2 separate regions of the Homo sapiens genome follow, and region 2 is linked to region 1. The links are contacts of gene promoters, found by promoter capture Hi-C in human tissues and cell types (Jung and others, 2019). All regions are on one chromosome and are shown on one strand. The core of a region is centred on a gene start or on the middle of the fragment in contact, and the rest is flanking DNA. Distances in the headings are between cores, read along the strand shown. Region 1 holds the start of FAM131C (family with sequence similarity 131 member C). Region 2 has its middle 36 kb from the start of EPHA2-AS1.

What was found. Contacts are between HindIII fragments. The study calls those that stand out against the background at their distance.
Region 2: a contact is called between a fragment that was not itself captured here and the fragment with the promoter of FAM131C in region 1, in 1 of the 25 tissues and cell types used here (pancreas).

The regions. Positions count from the first base shown.
Region 1 is chr1:16,070,592-16,074,960 of GRCh38, forward strand. It overlaps FAM131C (family with sequence similarity 131 member C), which reads right to left and starts at 3,060. Exons shown (of 7, transcript NM_182623.3): 1 at 2,830-3,060. The coding sequence starts at 2,851. RefSeq lists a silencer at 2,955-3,114 and an enhancer at 3,323-3,822. The HindIII fragment of the contact is 22,024 bases long and covers 1-4,369 here.
Region 2 is chr1:16,116,848-16,121,138 of GRCh38, forward strand. No RefSeq gene overlaps it. Among named protein-coding and RNA genes, the nearest start is that of EPHA2-AS1, 36 kb to the right of the region's middle. RefSeq lists enhancers at 1,313-1,986, 3,258-3,814. The HindIII fragment of the contact is 6,854 bases long and covers 1-4,291 here.

The DNA.
Region 1 (4,369 bases), core at 1,810-4,309:
GATAAGCCTGGGCAACATAGTGAGAGCCTGTCTCTATTATAATATATACAATATTAAAATTAAAAGTAAAAATGAGAGCAATAGCTAATATGTACGAGTGCTTACTATGTGTTGGGTACTGGTCTGAATGCCTTACATGAATTAAGCCATTTAGTCCGCCCAGCAACCCTATGACATCAATACTATTATAATTCCCATTTTAGAGATGGGAACACTGAGATACACACACAAGGTCAAGTCACTTGCTGAGGTCACAGAGCTAGTAAATGGTGGAGCCCTGCTTCGTATTCTGCACTCCTAGCCTCTCTACCAACTAGGCAGACGCTAACTGCTGCCGATGCTGGGATGGGGTGATTTTCCCAGGTGTGGCCTGACCTAGGTTTTGGGGTTTGGCTGGGTGGCCCCAGCTGGGTGCAAGCTCTGGGCTCAGTATGGGCATCAGCCTGAGGCCTGCAATCCTTGGCCTTGGCCAAGGGTGGACGCACTCCCTCCACCCTTCCTTCTGTAGCAGTGCCTACCTGGCCTAGGAGGCACTGAGCGCTCAGAGGCTATGATTAGCAATCGATTGCTGGTGCAGGGGCCAGGTGGGGGGCTCAGGAGCCCACAGCAGCCTGCAGCTCCAGGAGAGTAGACAGGTGCAGGCACCAGGGCCGAGGGCTGGCTGTGAGTGCAGAGACTGAGGCCCTAGGCTGTGGAGTCAGCATGCCATGGTTTAAATCTTGGCTTATACTATCCTAGCTGTGTGGCCCTGGACAAGTCACTCCACTGCCCTCTGCCTCAGTTTTCCCACTTGTAAGATAGGGACTGTGTTCATATATAACCCAAACTAGCTTTATCTGCCTAAAACTTTCAGACTAGTATGCACTCGGAGAGCATCAGTGATAAGGAGAGGGCAGGGTGGGTCAGTGATGCAGCCACCCAGAGTCTCTGGGACCCTGGCTGTCCCCTGCCCACATGGCTCCCCATATTCCTTTCACCTCAACCCAACTTTCCTGGATGCATGTTGAGACTGCCAGGGGCCCCGTCCTCTCAGGAGGGGGACAAGGCTGGACTATACAATTAGATCTGGGGGGCGCTGAGGAAGCCCAGGCTGCAGAAGGAAGGGTGGAGAGAGCGTATCTTGGCTGCTGTGGCCCCAAAGAGCCCTGGCAGAGGGGGCGGTGGAGGGAGCCCCAGGTGTGGGGTCAGAGGACCTGGGCCCCAGCCTCTCAGGGTGACCTTAGCAGGCGTCTCTTCCTCCCCGGCCTCTGTCCCATGCTCAGTGGGTTCTCAGCTCAAAGGCCAGTCCTTCTGGGCTGGGACCCCAAGGTGCCTGATATGGGGTGGCCAAGTGAAGGGGAAGGGACACTGAGGAAACACTCAGATCCCCTCCACCTGGAGCTGGCCCCAGCCAGAGACTGCCTAGAACCTTTGGGGTTTCTGGAGCCTGGTGCTCCTAAAGAACCCTCAGCACTCCTCACTCTTCAAACTTCCTTCCCCTCCCGCTAGGCTGCAGGCCTCCCGTACCAGGTGCTGTGCTGGGTTCCTTGCTGCTGGATGCCCAGCATGCACACGGTGCCTGGCACACGGCAGCTATCATGTTAATATCAGCTTAATGCATGGATAAGTAAAGGAACCCCACACAGCCTGACCCTGTACCTTCCCCTTCCCCAGCCGGGATTCCACCCCGATACCTCCCAGAGACATCCTGAGCCACTTACCTGAATGCCCACAGGAACTCCTGAGCAGAAGCCCTTCGAGTCCAGAGGATGGGGGAAGGTCATTGTGCTCCTTGCTCAATACCCCCAGGACAAGGTCCCCTCTATTCTGGGTAAGCTACTAGGGGTGATGGGTGTGGTGGTGGTCAGTGGGTTTGGCCTCAGCCTGCAGAGCCTGAACCAAGGCCAAAGCCACCCCCACTCCCAGTCACACCCCCCTGATCCCACTGTGGGGTGAACAGACCAAGGTGGGAGAAGGGCTCAGCCCAATCGCTTGTCTAAAATGTTGCCCAACAGCCTGTTGGAAAGCTGGTGGTGATGGGTGGGGGTGGAGGTAGGGGGCTCCAAAGACCAAACTGCCCATCCCCCAATCTCTGTGCAAGACTGTGTGTCCCCTCCTCACAGATAGAAGAGGCTGGGGCCTGCCCTGGGCCCCCAGGCAAGGGCAGGTCCCCTCCACCTCCTTGGGTACCACGTGGGGGAGAGTGGAGGGTGACAGGTCAGACACAGAGAGAAAGGCCCAGGGGTAACTGGGAACATCAGCTGTGCTCTGGCCCTTCTGTCCCCTGTCCAAGGATGGGGGTGGGGAGGAGGATTAGGGGGCAGGGGAACCTTCTTTATAACCTGTGCCCCACCATTAACCCTTTCCTGCCAACAGGGTTCAGGGGCTCTGCAGATGGGGGCACCCGGTAAGACGTGGGAAGGGGCTGTGGGGGTGAGCTGGTAAGACCTGTGTCTTGGGGAGGGGTGGGAAAGGGAGGGTCTGCTAGTTCTCCCGGTGCCCGCAGTTCCTCCGGGAAGCCAGGAAGAACCAGAGCTGGTTCCCAGGCACCCGGCAGGGGGTGTGTGGCTGTAGGGATGAGAGCGCGGCACGGCACGGGACCCTGCTTCGTGTCACCTGCGGGGCTGCAAACTGGGGCGGGGATGCGGTGACCTCTGCACGTGCGCTCTCTGCGCTGCCCCCGCCCCCTACCGTCCCTAGCTCTGTCCCCCTCAGGACGCCGCGTCCCCAGGGGTGCGGCGGGGCCGTGAAGGGCGGGTCGCCAGCCCCATCCCCCAGGTCTCCGAGCGGCGAGGGGACTGCGCGGGTCCCCGGCACCCGATCCCCCCGCCCCCGGCCGGGCCCCCTCACCTCGCGACACGCAGGAGCCCATCACGGGGCCGCGGGGCCGGGCCGCTGCGCCCGGGGTGCGTGGGGCCGCGGGGCGTTCATGTCTCCGCGGGCCCGGGGCTGAGCGCTGCGGAGCCAGAGGACGGGCGGGGCGGGGGGCTCGGGCGCCCTCAGCTCGGCCTCAGCTCCAGCCTGGGTCGTCCCTGCTGCCGCCGCGCCCGGCTCGCCTCGCGCCGCCGCCTCCCGCGCAGTGCCCGCCGCTGCCAGGGGAGGGCGACACCGCGGGGCGCGGCGGGCGGGGCCCGGGGGAGCGCAGCCGGGAGGCTCGGGCACACCTGTGGCCGCAGCGCGCGGGAGGGCCATCTCTGTCCCTTCGGGGCTCCCCCACCTCCTGGGGTTGCCCGGGCTGAAGGTCAGGGAAGGGGACAGAGGGGGCGGGGAGACTCCTGGCATTTGGGGCACAAAGTAAACAACATGAATTTAACCACACCAACGACGACTGGGCACGAAGGCTTGGGAGCGAGGAGGGGTGCGCGCAAGAACAACAGTTCCATTGGGCCTATTTTTAGAGGATGAAAGTGAGGCTCGCAGAAGTTAGAGGCCTTGCCTGAGAGCCCTAAGCTGTGAGTTCAGCGACTTTTGACTGTCAGCGCCTCATTCAGAGCTATTGAAATTAACATATGCAAAATAATATATGCCCAGAGGTGGGGTAGAGAGAGTGCGGGTAGATAGTGCGCTGGTGGCCTGGCGGCGGGATGAAGGGTCTCCAGCGATGGTTGAAGAGGGGGGCAAGGCTGCCTCTCAGGGCTTGTCTAGGGCAGAGTAAACTGAGGCACAGGTTTTTTTCCCCAGCCCTGGACGGCCTCTGTAGTCATTCACACTTACTCGCACGTACCTACACACACACTCTCCCATGTGTACATACCCCTCATTCACACACTGATGGTCATACACACACATATATATGCACACTTGCATTTACATACACGCACACACACTCACATACCTACACATGAATACACAGTCTCCCATGTGTACATACCCACTCACACCCACACAATGACAGTTATACACTCACATTGAAGCACGCTTGCATTTACACACACACACACACACACACATCCCAGCTCCTGAGGTGTGAAGATCCTTTAGCAAAATTTCCCATGCACACAGCACTCAATGTCAGTGTCTGAGACCCTCACTCACACATAGCATCTCGCTCTCTCCTTCATGCCCACCTGTGCATCAGGCAGGGCAGGCACTCTTGTGTCTGTTTTCCAGTTGAGGCAGCCAGGTTCACTGGTGGCAGCAGAGAAATGTTTTGAAGAATGAATAAGGAGGGGCCAGGCGCGGTGGCCCACGCCTGTAATCCCAGCACTTTGGGAGGCCAAGGCAGGCAGATCACTTGAGGTCAGGAGTTCGAGACCAGCCTGGCCAATATGGTGAAACTCCGTCTCTACCAAAAATATAAAAAATTAGCTGGGTGTGGGCTTGGCACAGTAGTTCATGCCTGTAATCACACCACTTTGGGAGGCCGAGGTGGGCGGATCACCTGAGGTCA
Region 2 (4,291 bases), core at 1,171-3,670, 46 kb after region 1:
TCTTTTGAATATTCTCTCCAGCGACTAGGAGTTCTGTGACGGTGCGGCCTGGGATCTCCCACCCCTTGCTGTCTCCCCAGCATGGAGCAGCATTCATTGAGTCCATTGATTCCTTCATCAAATATGTGGGGGTACCCACCGGGTGTCAGGTCTGGGGATCTAAGGGAAAAACAGGCCTGTCCCCACCCTCATGGAGCTGGCCACTGAGTGGGAGACAGGGGTCAGTGATAGAAAAGTATCTCACCACGTGGGACCACAGAAGCAAGGTCAAAAGCGGCACAGATGAAACATGCCTCTATGTGGTAGAGGTTGGATGCACCTTTAAGATGGGTGATGGGAGGCGGGACGCGGTGGCTCAAGCCTGTAATCCCAGCACTTTAGGAGGCCCAGGCAGGCGGATCACGAGGTCAGGAGTTCGAGGCCAGCCCAACCAACATGGTGAAACCCCGTCTCTACTAAAAAATACAAAAATTAGCTGGGCGTGGGGGCGCACGCCTATAATCCCTACTCAGGAGGCTGAGGCAGGAGAATCACTTGAACCCAGGAGGCAGAAGTTGCAGTGAGCCAAGATCGCGCCACTGCACTCTAGCCTGGCAATAGAGTGAGACTCCCTCTCAAAAAAAAAAAAAAAAAAATGAGTGATGGGGGCACCCTCTTCCAGGGTGTTACTCACGAGCTGGTAAGATCGTGCTGAGGATGTGGGGAAGAGCTCCAGGCAGTGGGTGGCATTCAGCAGACCTCAAGAATCTTGTGTAGAGACTGAGTCAGATGTGATAAAATGGAAAAAATAAAAAACAACAACAAAAAGAATCTTGTAAAATAAAAGGAGGGTCGAGAGAAAAGCACAAGGAGACCTAGGCTCACTCACTGGGAAATTCACCGATAGCTTAGAGCAAAGCCCTGTGGCAAGGGGCTGGGCTCGAACCTTGGCGCTGCCACTTGCTAGCTGTGGAGCTCTGGGCAAACCCTTCACTTCTCTGCGCTTCATGATAGGGTGACTGGATCAATTATTGTCCACTTAAAGACAGAAGGCGAAAGGGGGAGCTATTACAACCAATTATACCAGGACAACAGGCCAAAGCCAGGACTGTCCTGGACAGACGGGAGATATGGCCCCCAGCTTATGGGGCAGTAGTAGGACTAGGTCACAGAGTTTTTGGGAGGATTAAATGAGTTAATCCTTGGGAAACACTTTGAACAGTGGCAGCACATGCAATGCGCTTAATAATTATTAGCTATTGGCATTTTATTACATACGCGTGCACACACACACACACACACACACACAAGCTCAGAGGAGAGGGCCAGACAGACACACCTGAGTGTCATTCAAGCCCTCTGTGATCCACAGCCGGCCACGATAGGAGCCTGAGGGAGGCAGGGTTAATGTGTCCCCATTGCCTGGCAGCAGAGCGGGCTCTGCAAAAGTCTCTCTCTCTTTTTTTTGAAATGGAGACTCGCTCTTGTTGCCCAGGCTGGAGTGCAGTGACATGATCTTGGCTCACTGTAACCTCCACCTCCTGGGTTCAAGCGATTCTCCGATTCTCCTACCGCAGCCTCCTGAGTAGCTACAATTACAGGCATGCGCCTCCACGCCCAGCTAACTTTTGTATTTTTAGTGGAGACAATGTTTCACCATGTTGGCCAGGCTGGTCTCGAACTCCCCACCTCAGAAGATCCACCCACCTCGGCCTCCCAAAGTGCTGGGATTACAGACGTAACCCACCACACCTGGCCTGCAAAGGTCTCTTGGAAAATGGGTGATTTGATTTGAGCCTGGAAGGGTGGGTGTATTTTCCACAGACAGAAATAGGGAGGGATGTGTGCGGGGGTGGGCGAGGGCTCATGGGGAACTGAGGGCAGGTCCGGGAGTCTAGACCGCATTAGAGTACAGGGGAGGGGTGCAGAGTCTGGGGAAGTGTGTCCTGTGCCCAGATGCTGGGATTGGTTGGCCGGGCCCATGAGGCCTGGTCCTGGGGGAAAGGCCCCTCCGCCCAGCAGGAGACCTGATCATGCAGCCGCCTGCTCTGCCAGCCCAGTGTGGAAGCTGCATCCATCCATCCATCAGGCTGCTGAGGCCGTGGGGAATGTGATGAGGCTGCTGAAATGGGGCCCGGGCCCAGCAGGAGAAAGGGGGCCCCCACCCCAGGCAGGGGTGGGATGTGGCTGCAGCTTCCCAGAAACTGGGTCTGGTTCTGCCGACAGAGACTGGCTGACGGTTTGGACTGGAAAGCCAGACCCAGAGGGCTGGAGTGGGGCCTGCTGGCCGGGCTACCTGGGGCTGCCCAGGGCTGCCTGGGGAGAGGGTGCCAGGAGTGGGGAGGGGGCAACTCTGTGGTGGGGGCAGGGGCCCCTCATCTCAGCCAGGACAGACTTCCTGGAGCCTTCCTCACTACAGACGGACAAACTGAGCCCCCGTGACACAAGGGACATGCCCAGGAGTCCACAGCCAAGTCAATAGTAGGCGCCCAACAGAACCTCTGTCTTCCCTTCCCAGTCCAAGGGTCTTCCTGCCGTTTCCTGAAAAGAACCCCAAGGTCCCCAAATGTCACCGAGCAGCAGGCAGTGGGATGAGCTGACTCTTGTCTCCTATGCCGCTTTGTCACCTCCTAGCTGTGGGAACTTGGTCTGATTACTGTAACCTCGCTGAGCCCCAGGGTCCCCAAAATGGGGATAAATGTATGCCCCTCAGGGTCATTGTGACCCTTGCATAAGACGGTGTGGGTCTTGGGCTGGGCATGATCACTGGCATGGCACACTCACTGGCACCGTGGCAAGTTAAAACCGTGTCGCCAGGCACCAGCCTTAGATTTCCTAATTAATTAGCAACTCCTCTAGGAACAGGCAATGCTAGAGGAACGCCCACCACCTACAATGGTAGGTGTTCAGAAACATTCAACTGCTTCTCCTTACCAGCTTTTGTGGTCCCTCCCGGCCAGCCAGAGGGAGCCCAGGACCATTGCACAGCACTCACCACATTCCCAAAACCCATATCCAGCTCCACAGGGCTCTTGGATCTCAAAAGCCCAGTCCTTGTCCCCCACAGTTCATTTGTTTATTGAACAAATGTTTATTGAGGGCCTACTGGGTACCAGACATAGTTCCGGGGAGGGACGATGCAGGCGCGATGCACAGAATGGGCAAAGGCACAGAGGGCCGGAGCTAAGGACTCAAGCACTTCCCGTACACATTCATTTGCCCCCTGTTCTAGCAGCATCTATGGTGCCCAAGGCCCCATCCCAGGCCCTGGGCTGCAGCTGGAGCTGAGGGGGTGTGAATGGGGAGGCGAGCAGAGAGCTTGCCTGTCCCTCCAGAATTTGCTAATTAATTAGGAAATCTCGGGCTGGTGCCTGGCGACACGATTTTAACTTGCCATGCAGACTGGGAGCAGCAGAGAAAGCAGGCATCTCCCTACCCAATGCCCCAGTCACCACTGCCTTCACCTCCTTCAGGGCTTTGCTGGATGCATCAAAGGCCCACCAAGGTCCCTGCAGCTCAGAACCCAGAAAGGGCTGCAGGCCCACTTCTCAGCAGAGAAGGCTAAAATCAGAGATGAAGGTTCTGCTAGGGGTGGGAATGAGGGCAGGGCTGCTGTCCTACAGCTGCTCCTGACACAACAGCCAGGGGTTAGGGTGGCATAGCAGATGGAGGAATCTTGTCTTGGTCAAATGGGGCCCAGATGTTGGAGGGGAGACTCAAGCCCCACCCACAGAGGTCTGGAGTCAGAGCCAGGCTCTTCTGGGACACTTCTTCCTCCGCCTGGTGGACTCTCACTTGACCTCCACCTCAGCTTGGATGGCTCCTCCTCCAAGCAGCCTGCCTGGACTTTCTAGGCTGGGTCAAGTGCCCCTCCCCCATCCCTGCCCCAACCTCTGGCTCCTGTAACACCCAGCTCTGCCCCTTCTTAGCCTGGGTCCTACTCTATTACCATTGCTGCCCCCACCAGACTGAGTCCCATGAGGGCAGACAGGGCCCTTATCCATCTTTGTGACCTTGTGCCCAGCCTGGCATAGAGCAGGAACTGGCCACTGAGAGAAGGGACAGAGCAGCAAACTATCTAGATACCTGGGGTGTGGGATGTGGTGGCATTTGGAGACCATGGGCAGGTTATGTTGCCTCAGTTTCCCCAGAACCAGTGCTTCTCAGACCTTATCTAGGGAAGTGTCCATGATGGCAGAGAGGGGAGAGGGCGGCTCTGGCCAGTTATGTAACCTCCCTCCCCTCGGTGTTCAAATCTGTAAAATGGGATATTAATAGCATCTACCTTGAAGGACTGTTGGAAGAATGAAAT